3 separate regions of the Homo sapiens genome follow, and regions 2 and 3 are each linked to region 1. Evidence: promoter capture Hi-C in 16 types of primary human blood cells and fetal thymus (Javierre and others, 2016). All regions are on one chromosome and are shown on one strand. Each heading gives the region's core, a stretch centred on a gene start or on the middle of the fragment in contact. The rest is flanking DNA. Distances are from core to core; before and after follow the strand shown. Region 1 holds the start of VWA2 (von Willebrand factor A domain containing 2). Region 2 overlaps PLEKHS1 (pleckstrin homology domain containing S1). Region 3 has its middle 5.6 kb from the start of PLEKHS1.

Evidence for each region. The method cuts DNA at HindIII sites, captures the fragments that hold promoters and counts their contacts. A CHiCAGO score of 5 or more calls a contact.
Region 2: a contact is called between a fragment that was not itself captured here and the fragment with the promoter of VWA2 in region 1, in 4 of 17 cell types (erythroblasts, naive B cells, total B cells and 1 more). The highest score is 6.3, in erythroblasts.
Region 3: a contact is called between a fragment that was not itself captured here and the fragment with the promoter of VWA2 in region 1, in 2 of 17 cell types (monocytes and neutrophils). The highest score is 5.6, in monocytes.

Annotation. Positions count from the first base shown.
Region 1 is chr10:114,237,433-114,241,253 of GRCh38, reverse strand. VWA2 (von Willebrand factor A domain containing 2) reads right to left here and starts at 2,000. Exons shown (of 14, transcript NM_001272046.2): 1 at 1,685-2,000. RefSeq lists an enhancer at 1,381-2,089. The HindIII fragment of the contact is 4,541 bases long and covers 1-3,821 here.
Region 2 is chr10:113,770,585-113,773,914 of GRCh38, reverse strand. PLEKHS1 (pleckstrin homology domain containing S1) reads right to left here. Exons shown (of 13, transcript NM_001395068.1): 8 at 1,826-1,945. Among named protein-coding and RNA genes, the nearest start is that of MIR4483, 5.8 kb to the left of the region's middle. RefSeq lists an enhancer at 102-1,301. The HindIII fragment of the contact is 2,413 bases long and covers 768-3,180 here.
Region 3 is chr10:113,744,254-113,747,964 of GRCh38, reverse strand. No RefSeq gene overlaps it. Among named protein-coding and RNA genes, the nearest start is that of PLEKHS1, 5.6 kb to the left of the region's middle. The HindIII fragment of the contact is 7,286 bases long and covers 1-3,711 here.

The DNA of each region.
Region 1 (3,821 bases), core at 751-3,250:
CCAGGGCAAACTGTGAACTTTGGGTCATAATGATGTGCCAGTGTCGGTTCATCAGTTGGAACAAATGTACCACTGCAGTGGGGGATGCTGACAATGGGGGAGTCTGTGCATAGGCGGGGACAGGAGGTATATGGGAAACCTGTACCTTCTGCTCAATTTTGCTTTGAACCTAACACTCTAAAACTGGGTCTCAGTTTCCTCATCTGTAAAAACATGGGCTTCTGACTATGATTCGGATATCCCAGGGGCTTGTGCCTATTGAAGAGAGGGGAAATACTGGCTGTAATCTCTGTACGGTAGACCAAAAACCAGATTTAATGAAAATACACTGATGGTTTTCAGCCAGAGATGATGAGGAAAGCAATCCTCTTCTCCAACCTGGGATTTGCCTGGGGACCTAGTCTGAGAAATTCTTACACTACTAGGAGATGGCTCTGGGCTGGATTTTACAAAAGAAGAGTAAGGCCTGAGGAGCTCTGAACCCCCATCAGTCACAAGAGAGGATGGCTTCAGCCTGCTGAAAGCCAGCAGCATTTACAAATTCATGCCTGTGGCTTTTGCCAACTCTAGTGGTACCTTTCTGACCTCTTCACTTCTCTGACTCTTCAATAAATCGACATTTCTTAATATAGTGTCACCTTAACAGCAAAAGAGACCTTGAATTTTTGGGACTGAATTTATAAAACACTTAGAGGTTCTGGGGTTTTACTTAAAGCAGCTTGTAATTTGAAAAATGTACACGTTCTAATTATTCCAATCTCCAAGACATCAAACACATGGCATGAGGTCCCCATTGCTAAGTCCCCTTTCAGCTTCAGCTGGAGCCCTTGATTCCACAATCACAAGCAGCAAGGTGCCCTCCTCCCTTCTCTTCTGTCTGGTGCCCCCAGCAAGTTTTCAAGGTTCAATTCTGAGACTCTCCCATTCACCGTCCCAGCAGGTGGCCAAGGGCCCAAGGCGGGAGGGAAAGGTCGGCTTAGCTAGGGAAAGTTTTGTTAGCCTTATTGGAAGGGAAGGAGACATGCAGGAAGCAGGGCTGAGCCAGGTGGGGGAAGTCACCAGAACGACAAACCCCTGGACTTCCCACTGCCCAAGCGCGAGGACTCTCGGGGCAGCCGGCCCCTCTCAGGTTCTGCTTGCAGACACTTCGCTGGGGGCACTCGTTCTGCCTGGGAAAACTGCCCCAAGTCCCCTTAACACCTGTGTATGTCCTGTAGTGGGGTGTGGGGTGGAAGCGAGCATGTCACCAAAGCCTTTATTCAAAGGGCGAGTCCCTTTCCGCGGCCGCCAGGGAAGGGGGCCCCGCTACTGTGCCAGGAGGGCAGCTTGGGTTTAATACATGCCCTCCTCCACCCCTGTACCCGGAGCCCCTACCCACTTACCTGCTGACCGCACCCCTCCCAAAACCCCGCCAGCTCGCCCGGGACGGACCGCGAGTGGCCACGAGGGAGGCGCGCGCCAGGTGCGCTCTTCCCCCGACGCCGCCGTGCCAGGAAGGCCGCGCTCAGGTGCGCGCAGACAATGCGAACAAAGCCCGCACCCTCGGCGGGGCCGCGCAGCCCGGGTGCTCTGGGTAGGGGTGGCTGGGCAGAGGGGGCCCCAGTACCGGGAGCGTGAATCGGTCATCGGCAGCCGGCACTGGCGGGTACCCGGGCGCCAGAGCCAACTCGGGGCTGGGACTCACCGGAAGGAGAGCGGCGACCAGCGCTCGGTGCCCGGGCGGCTCTACTCACAGACCCGGGCGCGGCTCGGGCCAGGGGGCGCTACGGGATCACAGGAGGGGCGCCCGGGGCGCGGCTGCCACGTGGGACACCTGTTTGTCTCTCCTGGGAGAGGGCGGCACGACCCGACCCGGCTGAGGTCGGAGGAACTACCGCCAGGGAGGTGCATAGAGCCCCTCGCGTTTTTTAAAGCGGCATCGGCCCAGGTCTGCAAATAAAAAAGTACTTCACTTCTACGCGGGTCACCCAGCCTCCGAGCGGTGCAGCCGCGAACACTGTGCCGTCAGCTGACTCCTCCACGGGCTTTATAGCTCCTTGAAAAAATGTTGACTTTGGCATCTTTTCTATTTGTCATGGCAATTGCCTTTTAATTACCTGTCCCTCCTATTGTTGCAGTTGGGTAATAAGCCGACCTTTTGGCCATCATCCTTGCTTAAGATTGGAGGGCGTTTGATTTTTAAAAAATCAAATGCCACAAAGCACAATGCTGAGCATGATGCTTTATATAAAGTAAGCTCTCAATGAACGTTGACTATGACTGCACAATCCATAATTTCCATACTTCATTTAAAAACTGCCAGAGCATGCCTGTTCATTGCAAAAAAAAAAAAAAGAAAAGAAATAACAGTAAAAAAGTTGATAAATCAATCATTTTCCAACACCCAGAGATAATCAGTTAACATTGTGGTGTATGTTCTTCCAATGTCATTCTACCTATGCAAAAATTTATATATTTTTAGTTCATTCCATACAAGCTGTACATTACTCAGGTTTTCCATTTCCTTTTTTTGAATGTCCGTTTTAAGCCACTTCATAATGTCCTAATGTACTTAACCTATCTGCTATTGTTGAATATTAAACTTTCCATTTTAATAATACAATTAGATGTCTTTGTGCTTTTGTCCAATTAATTCCTTAGAATAAACTACGAAAAGGTAAATTTCTAGGATACAGGTTTTATACAACTTAAGACTTTTGATGCCTATTATCTAATTGTCCTCAAGGAAGGTTGACCTGCTTCCTCTTTTCCATGCTCCTTCCCATTATTCTTGTAAATGTCAATCTGATAGGAAAATAATTTGCTTTACACCTTTCCTGTCTGTAGTTCTCAGTTAATTTCCAAACCTCCGACACTGACAGCTTCCAGTGAAAGTGGCCCGTGGTGACTTTAATGTTGCAAACCTCATTGAAGGAGGCTAGGAAAGGACTCATTTTTCCTGTAATTCATTTCTCCCAGTAACATTTACTGAGCACCCAAAAATAAAAACAGGGCCACACCAGAGCAGCAGACATAATGTACCACCACATCATCCCCACAGGGGACAGCAGTTAGTCTTGAGGTCTAACTGCTGGGGAGGGATGGTCTCTGCCTCTAGATCAGCATTGCCCCAGAGAAATACTGACCAAGCCACGTGTGTAATTTTAAATGTTCTAGTGGTCACATTTAATAAAAAGTGAAAAGAAACAGCAAGCTGGATTTCAGTATTAACCTAAACATCCGGAACATTATCTCAACATGTAATCAATAAAGATGTTTTATGCTGTCTTCAAAGTCCTGTTTTTTTGTTTTTTTTTTTTTTTTTTTTGTTTGAGACAGAGTCTCACTCTGTTGCCCAGGCTGGAGTGCAATGGCATGATCTTGGCTCACTGCAACCTCTGCCTCCCAGGTTCAAATGGTTCTCCTGCCTCAGCCTCCCGAGTAGCTGGGATCACAGGTGCACACCACCATGCCCGGCTAATTTTTGTATTTTTAGTAAAGACAGGGTTTTGCCATGTTGGCCAGGCTGGTCTCAAACTCCTGACCTCAGGTAATCCACCCGCCTCAGCCTCCCAAAATGCTGGGATCATAGGCGTGAGCCACCACGCCTGGCCAATCCTGTTGTATTCTATACTCACAAGCACATCTCAATTTGGACTCGCCACATTTTTAAGTGCTGTATAGTCAAATGGGGTGAGTGGCCTGTGCTGCTCCAGAGATGTCCAACAAGGGCAGACCCCAGGTCCTCAAGAAAGTGGAAATTCTACCTTTGACAACCCTCTCCCTGTACCCCTTATGCTGTTTAACAGGTACCAGCATACTTTGACCTTATCAGGCTTACC
Region 2 (3,330 bases), core at 725-3,224, 470 kb after region 1:
CCCCAATCAGTTCTACTATAGAATCATGGCACTTGGCTGGGACAAAGACTCTGACACAATGTGAAGCTGGTCTCAGGTTACTATGCTCACAGGCAGCCCAAGTGGCTTCAGGGACATTGCAATGTTCTAGAAAAATACTGCCCTTAGGAAGCTCTCCATAGCCCCCTTAGAACAAAGAGAGTCACTTGTGGCAATGATTGCTCAAAAACCCTAAGGCCTACCTAAGTTCACCGTTAACCCATGATGGAAACCTTCCTTCCAGTCAAGCCAGTCTTCCCATTGGCCCCCTGCAAATGGTGCTGTTCCATCGCCATGTTCGTGCTCTCTTCTTCACCTCGAGTGCCATCTTTCCTTTCGGCCTACTGAAATCATGTTCAGGCCTGGCTGAAGTCCCACAGCCCACTCTGATCACCTCAGCTACGGCAGAGCTCTCCTTTCTCTCAATTTCCATTGCATAGTTTTTTTACTTATTTATTTATTTATTTATCTTTGGTCTTTTTAGCTGTTTTGTCTGCTTTACTAGACTTTACTTATCATAAAGTACCTAGCAAAGGCCAGGCCTATAACTGATGCTCAGTACACATCTGATTGGTTGGCTGAACTATCATAAAAGACTGCATCCCAGGAAACAGAAATATGAAAATATTTTGGTGAAAGAAGAACTCTGTGCTCAAAGGAGCTTGGGAAATGCCATGTGTTGTATCTGACTTGACTATTTACAATGCACCACTGCATACTAAATGCTCTGAGAATTCTGCTAAGAAGCTTGTTTAACTTATTTTAACTGGGTGTTTCCGGAACTTATTTGACCCCAGAATGTTTCTTTTATATAAACATACGTCACCATCTTACGGAAAACCCCCAGTTTGGGAAATGACGCAGCATTCCCACCCTCCATTCTGTCTTCCTATCTCTCACTTCCATTCTCTTCTCTCTATAGTCCATGGCAGATATAGCTGCTCAGTTAATACTAATGGAGGATAATTCAGGTTTTGAGATTTCCCAACTCAGAAGCCATCGCTTCCCCTATGCTGTCTACAGAATGAAGTCAACTTGGCATTCAAGACCCATCATGGGCTGGCCCTTTTCTTCTGTTTATCTCCCACTATGCCTTTCACGCACTCTAGGTTGCAGCCTCACTGAACTATTCCCCATACATGTATCAAATGGCACTTCATCCCAGAAGCCTTCCTTGACTCTGATAGAGAAAATCTGTTCTTTTTCTATTGCTTCCAGAGCACACGGACCACGTCTTTTGTGCAGCGTTATCCTGTGGTAACTGACAAGACTATGCACTCTGACAGCAGGGTGATGTCAGGCTCATTACTTTAGCCACCATGCCCAGTACAGTACAGTGACTAGTGCTCAGAAGGCATTCAGTAAGGGCTTCCTACTGATCAATAGACTGATCGATACACAGCACACAACTGATCACCCAAGGACCTTGGCTCATATTATTCTTTCTGCTAAGAATGCAGAAAGACTCCTCAAGGCAATCCCCCACATCCAAATTTTACTCATCATGTATGGCCTAATGTCATCTCGTCCCTGAAATCTTCCTGATCTTTTGTTTGAAAGTCATCTCCTCCTCCCATAGCTCATGCACCCCTGGTATTTTATAAGCATCTCTCTTCAGCATAGAACCCTCTGTCTTGTATTACAGCTGTCTCCTAGTCAAGTGTCAGCACCATGAGCACGTCATCTGTATTTGATTTACTTCTGTGTTCCCACTGACCATAGCCTAATATTGCACGAAAAGTGCATGGCAGGGTTTCAGTAAATATTTGTTAAAGAAACAAATGATGAATGGACAAGAAGGGGTTACCTCTAAAAGAACACTTCGAGGAGTAAGATAATGATTCTCTTCCTTCACATCTTGAGTGGCTTCTGATAAATCTTGTAGGTGAGTTTGCCTAAATCCTGGAGAACTTTGTTCCATTAAATGCTGAAGAAAAGAGATAAAAATGCTTTGCTTTTTCTTTGCAAGAGATAGAATTAAATCACATGCATTCTAGAAAAGCCGTAATAAATTAGTTGGGTTAAAAAAGACCAGAGGGTCTTCCAAGATTACATCCAGAAGCTCACACAACTTGAACTTGCCTCTTGAGTCTGGGTCACCACTGAGGATGAAAACATATAAGCACATCACTCAGGCTTTTTTTCTCTACCGTTTGGAACAGTCACTCAGAACAAGTGGTTTTCTCCTGTGGGTGGTATTCTTTTTTTTTTTTTTTTTTTTTGAGACAGAGTCTCACTCTGTCCCCCAGGCTGGAGTGCAGTGGCGCGATCTCGGCTCACAGCAACCTCCACCTCCTGGGTTCAAGTGATTCTCCTGCCTCAGCCTCCTGAGTAGCTGGGAATACAGGCGCGCATCACCATGCATAGCTAATTTTTGTATATTTTTTAGTAGAGATGGGGTTTCACCATATTGGCCAGGCTGGTCTCAAACTCCTGACCTCGTGATCCACCCGCCTCAGCCTCCCAAAGTGCTGAGATTACAAGCATGAGCCACCATGACCAGCCCTGTGGGTAGCATTCTAAGTCACTAAGCTCTGGAGTTGCTACCCTCATCTTTTTCCTGTAATCATCCAGTGCCATCTAAGAATGTAATTAACCCAGAATCAAGGCGTTGCACCTTTCCTGTTCCTGCTCCATATTTTTCTTTTGTGTTCTGTTCACACACTTCTATTGTTTCCACAGCAATGGAATTTGGTTGTGTTGATCATATGATAGTATGAATTATGGGTTTCCAGGTGATCTAGATTCAACCACTATTGCCTCCCCTTCCCCATAGATACAGAATATTCTACTAAAGTAGCTTCTTTGCATGGCAGAAAAATTCCAAGAACAATGCCTCAGAGCAGGGGGTTTGGAAAAGACCCTGAATGTTCTCTAGAAAAAAAGTCAAGTTTTAAAATACAGGTGTGTTTAAGTTCTGTCCATGTTTTAAGTTCCAAGCTCATGGAGCCGGATCATGCTGAGTTGGGGGTAAAGGCAGCCCACTTAATTTAACCAACAACAACACCACCCAGCAAGGCAAACAGTACTGTTAACTCGAGCTGGTTTAAAAATCACTGGATCTATAGTGTGAAAAGGCAAAGTGACCAATAATGTTATCTCTAGGGGGAGGGAGATATCATGAGTGAAAAGCAAGAGGCACTTACAGACAAGGGTGAAGCTTCCTAACTGCTGCATACCACCGTTTCTACTCGCTAAATGAAGAACTGAGGTGAGGTGTTTGGCATGGTGAATTTGATATGCTACAAAAAGCTTTCAAAATAGTTGGAGAGCTACCAACTAGATAAAACAAGGGACTAGGACTCATTAGAT
Region 3 (3,711 bases), core at 286-2,785, 490 kb after region 1:
TCTGAACAAAATTGGGGTTCTGCTAGCCAAGAAGATGGACCATGACTGTTACAGACATTATCATCCCTCTCTCCCTCCATCGTCCCCTGCCTCCCCTCAAGATTGTTTCCAAGAACTCTTACTCCTGGTCTCTGCACGCTAAGCACCTTGGCCTTTGTACATGCTGCTCCCTCTCTCTGGCCCACTCTTCTCCTGTTTCTTCCACTGGCTAACTACTACACATCCTTCAGCTCTCACTCCAACATCACTTCTCAGTGATTCCTTCTCTCCCCAGACAAGGCCAGATTCTTTATGACACATTATCATGGTGCAATGTTAACCTCAGTACACATTTTGCCATTTGTAATTTTAGATGCATTTGTCTGATTATTTGGTTAATGTCTGTCTCTTCCTCCACAAGACTGTATAATCCATTAGTACTGTGTCTGTTTCTTCTGACCAGTGTATCCCCAGTAGCTAGCTTAAATGCCTATCCATTCTTTATTTATTTACAGTGTGCCTACTATATGCCAGATGTTATAGATAATAGAAAAATGGAAAGATTAGTGTTTTTTGAGAGCTCATAATTTGACCAGGGAGATCCAGAGAAAACTAACTTTAATACTCCATTGGTAATCCCTCCTACTTCACTGTTGTACCTCACTTTTTAAATTTAATTTCATTTTTTTATACTTTAAGTTCTAGGGTACATGTGCACAATGTGCAGTTTTGTTACATATGTATGCATGTGCCATGTTGGTGTGCTGCACCTGTTAACTCATCATTTACATTAGGTATTTCTCCTAATGCTATCCCTCCCCCCTCCCCCCACCCCACGACAGGCCCTGGTGTGTGATGTTCCCCACCCTGTGTCCAAGTGTTCTCATTGTTCAATTCTTATGATTACACTCTGGACCTTGGAACTACCCATTCTTGCATGAACTTCGATAACTTTGACTGGGGTGCTCCACTTTCCAACTGCAATCTCCCTTCCTTCTATGCTTTACATTTCTTCACTTCAGCCTCTCCAAGACCTCAAGATTCTGGACCCTTCCTCGTTCTTTCAGTATGTCTGCTGAGATCAGTGTCCATTAGCAGCTGAAACTGCCACTCTCTCAACTGCCTGCAAAAGGAAATAAGCTGGGTTGAACTTTGCACAAGAATAACTACTGATGGGATCAGGGTGAGCACCTTACCCTAGGACTGCCCCTCTATTGGCTGGCTTTTGACCCAGGGAGAGGCCTGACACAAAGAACTTTGCTCAGAAGAGGCAATGGCAGCGAGCCAACCCTTGCTGAAATTTTCTCTTCTCTTTGCTTCCAAGTTACTCTCTCACTTGGTTCTCACTATACTGATCTATTTCTTTGTTTTGTTTGCTGGGTTTTCTACCAGCATGCAATCTTTACTTTTTGGAGTCCCCAGAGTTCCTTCCTTAGATACTGTATTTCCTTACTTTGCAAGTATTTCTCAATGCTGGAAATAGTGTGGGTCCATTGAGGTTGGTGACCGTAAATTTGGCAAGAGTCCTGATGTGTGATTTCCTCCAGTGGCCTTCAGCTGTTCAGGAGCAGGCATGGGGGAGCCAGGGCCTGGGGTTCATTTCAGCTTAGCATTTTTGCTAGGAAAATGCCACAGAAGGAAGGCAGCAAGGGAGTTTAGCATACTTGCTGAAGAATGCTCAAAATGTTGACTCATGGAATCAGAGGGTCATAAGGAGGAAATAACTAAGGAGATAAAGAGATAAAGGAGATAGGAGGAGATTCTTGGGGACGGGCATCCTGGGTAGTGATTCCTGGTGAGATGTGCCGTCAAAGACAGATGGTACAAGCTGACTGAAGGATAGGAAGTAGTGCTTGGAGAGAATATGCTTGATCGATCTTAAAATAGAGAAATTGCAAGGCGCAGGTAGCTTAGCTATGTAGCGTAGAAGGTCATTGGTGACGAGGAGGTCAAGGAACTGAGGGGCTAAAGTGTTTGGCCATCCACATGGTTGTCCAGTTGATGGAGCAAAGTCCTTTTAAAGTTCTCTAAACATTTTAAAAACATGAGAAACGGAATAAAGGTAATTAACTCTACCTGCTTCCCCCAATACACACACATACCAGTGTCTATTTTTGTATTTAGATTCATTTGTTAGAGCAAAAGCAGATGTAGATGCCAAAAGAGGACTTCGAGATCCACAGAAGATTGAAGTCAGAATCTTCCTTATTTAAAGAGAACACCTGGGTCCAGTTTCTGGGGATTAGGGAATGTATACAGGTGATAGAGGATGGCCCAAAGATTTCGGACTGGGAGTCAGCCAATGAGACCACCACTGGGGCAGAGGGAGGGATGATGAGTTCTTCCTCTTTTTTCTTTCCTTTCTTTCCCATTATGGCCCTGAATCTTAGTAGGTCCAACTTGCTTGGCACTGGGCCAAAAGGGTCAGTGTTGGTAAGGAAGGGGTGGCAGTGCAGTCGAAGAAAAAGTGGAGTAGGAAGGAAACCCCCAAATTGATGGTCCTGTGCAGTGGCCTCTTTCCCACCAGCCCATCACATCTGTAGGGTGTGGTGTAACCCTGGAACCCTATGTTTCCTAGAACTCCTGTTGGTCAGTGATAGAGCTTCCCTGCTGCTCTGGATCTAGGAGCAGCCCAATTTTTTTTTTTTTTTTTTGGCACTTCAACTGCTATCATAACAGAAGCAACCCTATTTCATTTCTGGGACCTGGAGAAGAAAGAACATATTCCATATGGATTCTGTATGAATCATGAATTTGAAGAATCAGGTAAAGCCCATGAAATCAGACCACACATCCCACTTAGCATCGTGTTTTATTCTTCTAAAGTTTTTTATTCTTCTGAACTCAACTTCTAAACGTTTATTGTTCCAAGAGATGTATATATTTTTAAAACGTTTTCATTCCTTTCACCTTCTATTTAAGTTGAAGGCAGTTAATAAGAAAGAATATTTCCTTTCAGCATTTATTGGTACCACTTGCATAACAGGCACAGTTGGGAATTTTGAAAAAAGAATTAAACATAGACTTTGCTCTTAGGGACCTTATAAACTAATATGGCAGATAAATCTGTACAGAAATAATGTGTCAGTCAGGGTCCCAGCAGGAAACAGCATGCTCAAAGGATTTATTGAAGAGAGTTATTGCAGGGTCTGTCTGCAGAGGTGGAGGCAGGGTTAAAGGAGCAGCAAGAAATGGTGGTGGGATGGTGGTGTAGCAAGAGTGGGAAGACTTCACCTCCTCTAGGCTTGCAGGGATGAAAGGAGGGAGAAGTATTACCCAATTTTGATGAAAGCTGAAGTCATGAGATAAACCTACACTATAGGGGTAGTGGCCGTAGTCAAGATATATGGTTACTTGTCCAGACCATGGCACAGCATGGAGGGAGCAGGGGGGCTGGGGTGGGGTAGGATGGGAAGAAGCCAGCAGAGGAGATTAACAAGAAGCATTCAGAGGAGCATGTGAAAAACCAGGAGTGTGTGGCGTCTAGCAGTAGAGACAAGGTTTGGGTGGGTGGGGGGCAGCCACCTCACATGCTGCCAAGAGGAAGGGTGAGATGGATTTGGTAGGGTAAGGACAATTGCGGCTTTGGCGAGAACCATTTGGTGAGTGGTGTGGAGCAAAAGTCTGATTGGAGCAGGTTAACTAGAGAAATGGCCCATCTGTTGAGGACCCTCACGGCAACAAATGGTGGAAGAGAGTGGAGAGGGACTCTGGAGGGGCAAGTGGAGATAA